Regions from separate parts of the Homo sapiens genome. Here region 1 is linked to region 2. The links are contacts of gene promoters, found by promoter capture Hi-C in blood cells and fetal thymus (Javierre and others, 2016). All regions are on one chromosome and are shown on one strand. Each heading gives the region's core, a stretch centred on a gene start or on the middle of the fragment in contact. The rest is flanking DNA. Distances are from core to core; before and after follow the strand shown. Region 1 holds the start of CYSTM1 (cysteine rich transmembrane module containing 1). Region 2 holds the start of ZMAT2 (zinc finger matrin-type 2).

What was found. The method cuts DNA at HindIII sites, captures the fragments that hold promoters and counts their contacts. A CHiCAGO score of 5 or more calls a contact.
Region 1: the fragment with the promoter of CYSTM1 here is called in contact with a fragment that was not itself captured in region 2 in 9 of 17 cell types (fetal thymus, activated CD4 T cells, naive CD8 T cells and 6 more); the score reaches 7.2 in fetal thymus.

What each region holds. Positions count from the first base shown.
Region 1 is chr5:140,173,299-140,178,138 of GRCh38, forward strand. It overlaps CYSTM1 (cysteine rich transmembrane module containing 1), which reads left to right and starts at 1,890. Exons shown (of 3, transcript NM_032412.4): 1 at 1,890-1,987. RefSeq lists an enhancer at 1,468-1,697 and a silencer at 1,988-2,277. The HindIII fragment of the contact is 7,638 bases long and covers 1-4,840 here.
Region 2 is chr5:140,698,369-140,702,865 of GRCh38, forward strand. It overlaps ZMAT2 (zinc finger matrin-type 2), which reads left to right and starts at 2,079. Exons shown (of 6, transcript NM_144723.3): 1 at 2,079-2,110; 2 at 2,451-2,544; 3 at 3,638-3,761. The coding sequence starts at 2,093. It overlaps HARS2 (histidyl-tRNA synthetase 2, mitochondrial), which reads left to right. Exons shown (of 13, transcript NM_012208.4): 13 at 125-937. The coding sequence ends at 184. RefSeq lists enhancers at 2,338-2,407, 4,369-4,497. The HindIII fragment of the contact is 1,698 bases long and covers 2,009-3,706 here.

The DNA.
Region 1 (4,840 bases), core at 640-3,139, 530 kb before region 2:
TGCATTAGTGCTCTGCAAAGGGTGGCTCTTACCCTCAGATGGTCCAGAGGTAGTTTGGGGTGTGCATGGATCACCTTCACTCTTCAGAGGCAAACAGACAATGCTGCTCTTCTCCAACAGCCTCTGAAGGACACCACCTACTGACTGGTTCTGAGATGTTTGCTGCCCCAGAGTCTCCCACCTGCTTCTTCCTCCCCCTCAGTCCTTTTTTGTAGCCTCTCAGCCTCCCTTCTCTTAATGCTCTTAGCACCCTTTCCTGGGTCTCTATTTACCCTGCCCTCCCTTTCAGCAACTCCTTCCCAAACCACTGCATACTTCTCCTTTCTTTCCAATCCCTCCTCCCTTCCCAGCACTTTCGCCCTCCATTGAATCCCTCAAGCCTCATTCTGGCCCCACTCCTCCCCTCACCCTCTATCCCTGCCCTCCTCAGATCTGCCAAACACCTCAGGCCTGGCTGCCTCTGTCCTGTTCCTACCAACCTTCTGACCATGCCTCTGTGCTCCTTGGGACCTGGGCTCACATTTTCAATCTCTTCTCTCCTATTAGTACAGCTCTGTCTAGAGCCATGGTTCTTCTCTACCTTTCACAGCTGTCTTCTTTCCCACTTATATGAGTTTCTTTAAGTGTGAAAATTAAAAAGTGCCACTTAAATACAATGATTAAGTCATAATAAACAGTACAAGTTGTACTTATGTGAGACATACCACCCATACACGTTTGATCTTCGAGAACCACATCTCAATCTGCCCATGGCCCATTGCCTGACACTAAAAGATGCTCACAAGAAGTTGACTATAAACTAACTTCTTGGTCTAAGATCCTAAACTCTTGAGAGGGAAGGTTTCAATACATATGAAACCTTCTTGGCAGTGCAGGGATGAGGAGAGTAAAACTGAAATGAAAGTCAGCAAATAGTGAAGGTGTGAAATAGGCAGTGACTCTCACACTGAGACCTCCAGGGGATGTTAAATTTTCATTTCGAAGCTGATAGTCTTATCTGGGAAGCCTAGAGAGTAACAAAAGTTGTAGGCATATACTTATATTAGAGTGGTGCAAAAGTAATTGCTGTTTTTGCCATTTAAAAAAAAAATGCAAAAACCACAATTACTTTTGCACCAACCTAATAGCAAGCAAGGGGAGGAATATGGAGAGAAAATCAATTTCTAAAATGAAAAATAAAAAATTTTTTGCAAGTAGGACTTGCAAGCTCATTCTAGGCCTTGCTCTGGGAGCTTTTCGGTAACTTCTCTTCCTGTTGGAACAGAAGAAGGAAACCTTCAGGACAGAAGATTCTGTCCCCCTTCCCCCTCCTGATGTGAATGAAGTCTCATTACACTCTAAAGTACTGGCGGGACTACTTGTTGCAAGGTTTATGGGGAAAAGTAGCCAGAGAGCAATCCAGTTATCAGCCTCAGCCCCATTCCGCTCAGGTACAGCTCGGGAAGTAAGCCCCCAACCCTAGTTGGGTCTGGACCAACAAGACACGAGGAGGCAGCAGCCCACAGCCGACCCCTCATGCCACGCACTGAGCAGGGTTCCGCATGGACGCTGGTCTTGCCTCCCAGGCGCCTGAACTAGCGGAGTTGGGGTATCGGGTGGAGTCTCGGAGAACCAATCCAATCTGAGGGGGACGCCTGTGGGAGTCCTAAGTATCCAGCGCAGCTGGGAGGCCCACGTTGGGAAGTCGGAGACCGACCCCGCCTCCCGACTGCGCCGACTGCAAGAGAGCGCTTCCGGCGGCGCTTGGAGGCCGAGCAGTTGGGGGCGGGGCTCGTGCTGTGACGCAAGCCTCGCCTCGCCCCGCGCCGCGCGCGTTGCCAGGGTGATCAGGTGACTCCCGGTTCGCGGCGCTGGGAGCGGCCGTGACGTCAGGCGCCCGGCTGCTCCTCACTTGCTCTGAGACAGGTGCGGCAAGTCTACTGCGGGCTGGTCCGGGCTCCTCAGGTTCAGACCCGACCGTTATCCAGTCGGTTCGTGGAGAGGAGAGGTGAGGTGCAGCGGACCTGGCCCGACCCAGCTGGGACCAGGGCGGGGATCAGGCACGGACAGGGCGCGTCCCCGGGCTCCCTGGGGAGCGCCCTGAGAACTGGGGGGCACCCGGGCTGGCCTGGCTCAGGCAGGGGTTCGCGCAGCCCCTGGGGAGGGGCAGGGAGGCAGGGAAGCTGCTGCCGCCAGCTGGATCCCTCCCGGCGCCCCGCGGCTACTCTGGGGCTCCTGGTCGCCGCGCCGCGCGTCTCGGCGGTGGACTCACAGGGTCTCCGCGTCGCTGCGGTTCTCGTCTCACGAGGAGTCGGCGGGCTCGGAGCGGGGCTCGCCACACCCCGTCCCGGGGGACGTCCGCGGGAGGCTTCTGGATTTCTTCGCCTTGGGCTGCGATTTCTGAGGCGCTGCTCTGCCTATTCCGAGCTGGGCCAGCCGGGGGCAGGGGGCAGGTCGCGAGTCCCGCGGGTGGGAGCGGAGCGGAAGTAACTAGTGACTGGAAGTAACTAGGGAACGCAAAGCCGGCGCTCGGAGGCCGGGGTGTTCAGAGAAGGCGTTGCGGGGGAAAGGAATCCCGGCTGCTGTTGAGAGCCGTGGATTGGGATCTGAGCGGACCTGTTGGAGGAAGTGAAATCTGAGCGGGGTCCTGACGGGTGGGAACTAATCTCCCGGTAGCAGTGGAGGTTGCAGGGGGGAGAGAAGGAGGGGAGGACCCCTGGGGAAGGAGACCATGAGGAAAAACGATTTGGGGACTGACTGGACCGTCTGCTGGGCTGTTTTGGGGGAAAAAAAGTTTGGAGAATTAGGTTAGGGAGGATTAGGAAAGGACCCTTGAGTGCCCACCTGAGAGGCACTGTGTGCTGTGGGGAGCCATTGAAACGTTGGCTAGATTGGGGTAGGGGGAACACTGAGGAAGTTGGTGTGAGGGGAACACTGAGGAAGTTGGTGTGACATTCCGGCAAAAAGGTGACAACACTCTTCTCTGATGGGATTCCTCAAACCCTGCTTATGAAATACTTGTAACCGACAAGGGTAGGGGCTCAGGCAGCCAGGTGCCTTTTTCAGCCATTGTTGGCAAATTTTTAGAAATTAAACAAAAAATAATTGTACATATTTATAGATTTATACAATATGATACATGTAAACTTTGTGGAGTAACCATGTTAGCAGATTTTTAAAAATTCCTTTTTATGAAAGGACCCACCCAAGGGCAGCTCATTTTCGAGTATCTCATTTGACGGGATTTAATGACTGGTTGGGAGCTATGCCCCCCTCAGTATGCAGGGAGATTATAGCGTCCACAACACTTTGCCCTTCAGAGGTTTCAGAGTGACTTACAAACACCTTGTATCCCTAGGGTGAAACCCAAACCCCAAATGACTGGTAAGAGATTTAATAGGGGGAAGTTATTAAAGGAGAACCAGCATCCAAACATTCATGTGGGGCATTGGATTCGCTGAAAGGAGTCCCATACTATTTGTTGATTGTAGATCAAAGATCTCTAGACCTGGCCTGGTGCGGTGGCTCACACCTGTAATCCCAGCACTTTGGGAGGCCGAGGCGGACGGATCACGAGGTCAGGAGATCGAGACCATCCTGACTAACACGGTGAAACCCCGTCTCTACTAAAAATATAAAAAATAAGCCGGGCGTGGTGGCGGGCGCCTGTAATCCCAGCTACACGGGAGGCTGAGGCAGGAGAATGGCGTGAACCCGGGAGGTGGAGCTTGCAGTGAGCCGAGGCTGCGCCACTGCACTCCAGCCTGGGCGACAGAGCGAGACTCTGTCTCAAAAAAAAAAAAAAAAAAATCTCTAGTCCTTTCCTGCCAGCTTTGAGTTTCTCCGTGTAAGGCTGCGTAAGTGTTAGTTGGCTATTTTGTCTTAATTTCCTGAGCAACAGGAAAAATATATTTTGGTTATATGAAGAGGAATGCTTTGGTAATTTATGATTTTTCCCAGCCCTGAAATTTATTGGTGCTAGGACCAAAAATACACAGCTGTCTATTTTATTTTATTTATTTGTTTATTTTTGAGGCGGAGTCTTGCTCTGTCGCCCAGGCTGGAGTGCAGTGTCGAGATCTTGGCTCATTGCAACCTTTGCCTCCTGGGTTCAAGAGCTGTCTATTTTATATTGAAACTTACCAAAGTCTGTTTTCTGGGAGGTAGTGAAATTATTTTGTATTTCTTTGACTCCAGAAAACAGAATTGGACCTCCAGGGATCCTGTACAGTGAAAGGCAGGTTTGGGAATTGCGAAGGAAGGTGGCCGCAGCTGGTTTGTGCGTAAATATAGAAACCGGTGCAGCACTCAAAGGAGTGCAAATCCAGGGTGAGACCTGGGGAAACGGGACTTCCAGTCAGATCAGTGAAGTCATTCTCTGTAAAAGAAGCCCCGAAGTGTGTAAAAGGCCAGAGTAGTTTTTTCCCCGTGTGTTCCTGTTGAGTGGTAGAGATTATGATAGTGATTTTTAAGGGGCTTTGCAGGAGCTTGTTAATATTAAGAATCGCTGGAAATCAGATGTCTTGGCCTCATTAAAAAATTTAGAAAAGTAACTGTTTTCCAAATCTCTTTGATACTATTTGAAGTGGCCAACTAATTATGGTTCCTTTGGAAAGAAACAGTCCACCCCCTCCTTTCCCAAACAAAATAACTATGTGCTGTCAGGGCAGTTAAGTAGGCCAAAAGTTTTTGGAAATTTTCTGCTTTCATTCACCCAAGCCACCCCCACAAGTTTTCTCATTGGTAGAGAACTTAAGACTTTACTGTCAGGAAAAAAATGTTAGTGTGTTTCCCTAAATACAAACTATAATAAACAACAGGGCTGGCCTTTAATAGAAATGCTCTTTCTTAAGGGGGACTG
Region 2 (4,497 bases), core at 1,608-4,107:
CTACTCCTTTCTGGTTGTATAAGTAATGGGAGAAGATGCAGAGTAAAACAAATCTGGAAAAACAGTGGCTAAGGAGTTAGTATCACTTTCTAGTTTATCACATGAGGATTCTCTTATGTTTCAGGTGGCCATTAAACGGGAAAATTTTGTGGCTGAAATTCAGAAGCGACTGTCTGAGTCTTGATCCTTGCCTGATTCCCATCTGCTGCTCTTTGTAGAAAAGGTTTCCTCTAGAACTGAATTCCTCTGGAATTGAGTGATGGACTTCACAACAACTAGCCAGGAAGGGTGACAAGTACCTTCTGCCTCCTCCATTCTTCCTGGGTGCAGAACTGTAGAAGACCCTGAGGACTCCTGGGCTAGTGTGAGCAGCTATTCTGCATGGGTGCAGATGGCTGGATGTGAAAGAGACATGCTCTAGCTGCAGAGGCAAATTTGAAGTGCCACGGAACGTTGTCAAGAGGTAGTGAGATTGTTGCTGTGAGCAAGGCTCTGGGAGAGTCACCTCAGGCTCAGGATTCTGAACCATTGAGATCAGAAACCAGATACTTAGCCTTCTACTGTAGCTACGGAACCAGATTCTGGTGAATTTGTCCACAATCAGCCATTGGCCTGTCTGGGGAGTTTTTGGAAGACAGCAAAGAGGGGCAATGGCTGCTTTCAGCTTTGAGGACAGATGCTATCCTAAGGGCATGGCAGTACCCATGTTGATTTGACATCTCTCTAGCCCATCCATTGCTTACAGTAGAAGAGTGGGGCTGTATGCTTGATAATCTTGAACATTGAACTTAATAGATGACTTGACAAGGTAGAGATCTGATATTTTGAGATTTTGGAGACCATTTCCTGTGCCAGAATCACTGCTCTATTCCATACCGTGCCATGGAGGCTGTTTTAGAAGTGGTTGGATAACATGTTAAATAAAATATTAAGTGTAGTAGTTTGGGTAATTTGTTATTGTTATCAAGGGCTTTGTTTGCATAGACCATAGAAAATGCTTGAGTGTACATTGGAGAATTCTGTGAGGTAGAAGTAACCTCCCTGGGATGATGCTTCTGTATTCAGTGATGAGCAGCCACAGTTTCTCCCTCTTTCCCTGTCTCCTCAAGAGGTAGTTTTTTTGTTTGTTTGTTTTTAGACGGAGTCTTGCTCTGTCACCCAGGCTAGAGTGCAGTGGCGTGATCTCGGCTCACTGCAACCTCCGCCTCTCAGGTTCAAGAGATTCTCCTGCTTCAGCCTCCCGAGTAGCCAGCTAATTTTTGTATTTTTAGTAGAGACAGGGTTTCACCATCTTGGCCAGGCTGGTCTCAAACTCCTGACCTCATAATCCACCCACCTCAGCCTCCCAAAGTGCTGGGATTACAGGCATGAGCCACTGTGCCCGGCCAAGAGGTAGTTTTGTTGCTAAAAATCAACATATAGTGAGCCGGTATGCCACAGTGCTTCACTCTAGAGTGTTGTTGATGACTGGCCTTTCCAAATCCAATTATGCTGATTAAATTATGTTCTACTATAAAGTTCCCCAGATGATGGAAAAATAAGTGAACCAAAGGGTGGTAGCATTGCTTCAAGGAAAAGAGCCCAAGTGCAAAACATGCTTTTTATATGTGCGTCGGGAAGGGTGCCTCTGTTGCAAACGTTTCAGTGTAGTTTAGGGTCATATCCCTAGTGCATGCAGGTGAATGAGAGGCATCTAGACCCCCTAATGGCGCTTCGGCCTTAAAAAAGGTTTAGAAATTCTTGGCAGTGGACGCAAAGTTGCTAGACTAGATCAGAGACCACTGTTTTGCGAACCTCAGTTTCCTTGTTTGTAAAATAGTTGAACTAAATCTTGACCCTTTAATGCTTGTTTTGAAATCCAAGGCAAAAAACAATTGCAAGCGCCCTTACTTCCGTGTTGCTTCATACTCCTCTTGCGCCTGCGCTGTCTCCTTGGAGCAGAGGCGGGGCCAACAAGCCTGTTTTAGAAACCCTCCAGTCCTTAGCTCGTTTAGAACACAAGACTCCAAGCTTATTGGAGGGCTATCTTGCCTTACGGCTCCAAGCCGCTTTTTACGGCGTTTTTCAGCTCGCCATTCACTTCGCTGTGAAGATGGCGTCGGGCAGCGGGGTAGGTGTTGTGTCTGAGGAGGAGGTTTTGCGGGGTGGGGAATGGTTTTTCAGACCTGAATAGAGACAAACTCCTGCACCCGACTGGCTTCCCGATATCTCCTCGAGATCCCAGGGTTCAGGTTCAAGAACTCCCCAGTAATAGGCCTTGGCAGAGGGTCAGTAGAATCGCGGAGGTTTCTCGGGTTGGGGTCTTGAGGCTACCTCAGTCTTCTCGTACAGTCCAAAGAGGCTTTGCTTTCAAAACGTCCTGTAGACACCTGGACCGCGAGGGCGCGGTTCCCTGCTTCTCTAGGGGCCCAGACACGGCGACGGATCTTGACGCTTTTTCCTCCCCACAGACAAAAAACTTGGACTTTCGCCGAAAGTGGGACAAAGATGAATATGAGAAACTCGCCGAGAAGAGGCTCACGGAAGAGAGAGAAAAGAAAGATGGTGGGTGCTAACTACATCAAGGGCTAAGGGTATCACAGAGGCGATGCGATGATGGAGAGCGGGTGGGAGTTGAAGTGCGCTGCCTTCCCACGCGGTGTAAGCTCTGGCAGAGTGCTGCTTCCCTGGGCCTAGGTTTCTGCATTTACAAAATGAGAGCGAGGAGGTGGGATGAAGTAAGTAGTTTTGAGATGCTCTTCAGCTCTATTTCACTCTGCTTCCTTGCCCACCCTTTGCTTGGCTCGTTTAATGCTTTCCTGAAGTACAGAGAAGATAACGGCATCCTTAGTAGTGACAGAGAAGTTAAGTAGAGTATTTTGCTGCTGTGCATTACCGCTATCAGTGACCCCCCTCTTTCCCTTGAAATTTCTTAAGGGAGAGAACATTCCTGGCCCAATCAAGACCCTCCCATATAGTCTGAGAAAAGCCGGGGAACTTTGCAGGATCTGTGATTGTTTCAGCTAGAGCTTAGTAGTGCTGTTTCTCTGTGCCTTGTACATCAGGGAGTTGGTGCTTCTCTCCTGTTTAAGAGATTGCATAAAGAAATGTTTTATTTTGTCATCTGTTTCAAACGTGTACATTCTTCTTTCCCTTTACCTCCAGGCCACCTTGCACTCACTAACTCTTTCATTTTTTATGTAACATGTAAAATAAATAGTGCTTGACATGTAACAGGCATTTCCTAGATGTTGGTCCCCTTTTATAAATTTGCCCAGCTCTCAGAAGGTTCCTTTCCGTTATGCCTAGGGTATCTGCCTGAAAGCATTCTTGAATGTCCTTGCTCCCGTTTTGAAAAAGTTGCTTCTAGTAATTCTTCAGAAATTCTCCCCCACAATTCAGTTAATCAATGAATATAAAACATACTGTTTTTAGATTTGCTGGCTTTAAAGTGGAGAAAAGCTGTAGAGTTGAGGATTGCTTATGATTTCTTCCTGTGTTGAGATTCTCCCCAGCTGCTACTTTAAGTGTCTGTTGTGTCCTTTCAGGAATGATTTTGAAATGAGTAAGACCTGAATTTTGGATTTCATGCATTTTTTTTCCTTTCTGGTTGAGGAACTATAATATTGAAGGGACTTCCTTCCCCATTATGTTTCAGGAAAACCAGTGCAGCCTGTCAAGCGAGAGCTTTTACGGCATAGGGACTACAAGGTGGACTTGGAATCCAAGCTTGGGAAGACAATTGTCATTACCAAGACAACCCCTCAATCTGAGATGGGAGGGTGAGTTGCTTATCATTTTTCCTCTGCAGCCAAGAATGCATCTAATAAGCCACCTATTTTGGTTTTAGGAAGTGTTAAGGAAGGTCCTTGGCCCCAGGATTACGTCCTTCTTGCCTGTAATTCTATCTTTATATTTGTTTTTCTGTGTCTCCCAAGGTCTCAAGTTGACATGATAGTGTCTCTAGGAGTGGTCACTCAGTGGGTTTCTTCATGTTATTAGCATTGGCTGGGCACAGTGGCTCACGCCTGTATTCCCAGCACTTTGGGAGGCCAAGGCAGGAGGATTGCTTGAGCCCAGGAATTCAAGACCAGCCTGGGTAACACAGTGAGACCCTGTCTCAATTAAAAAAACCAAAACAAACAAAAATCATACTATGAGCACTACAGCTACTACTCAATATAGTTTTTAAATTTTTTATTGCCATTGTACTTGTTATCAATTCTGATTTACTATTAATATTTTAAAAGGGATTATTTGATCTGTCAGAAGAAGAAATGAAGGAAAGGACTACTGAGGAGATTTCTAGGAGAGAAATTAGGTGGAGCTAGAATAGAGCCTAGGAGTTGTTAATGGTGAAGAAGAGGGGTTTGAGGTTCCAGACTAGCTGCAAAGGCTGTAGTTGTTATGGATGCCTGATTGTACACCTTCTTCCAAGACTATAACCTATAGGAAGAAGGGTCCTACAAGAGCTTGTCACCCTTTTGCCCCCCACTGCTTCTCTGTCCAGTTAGGTTT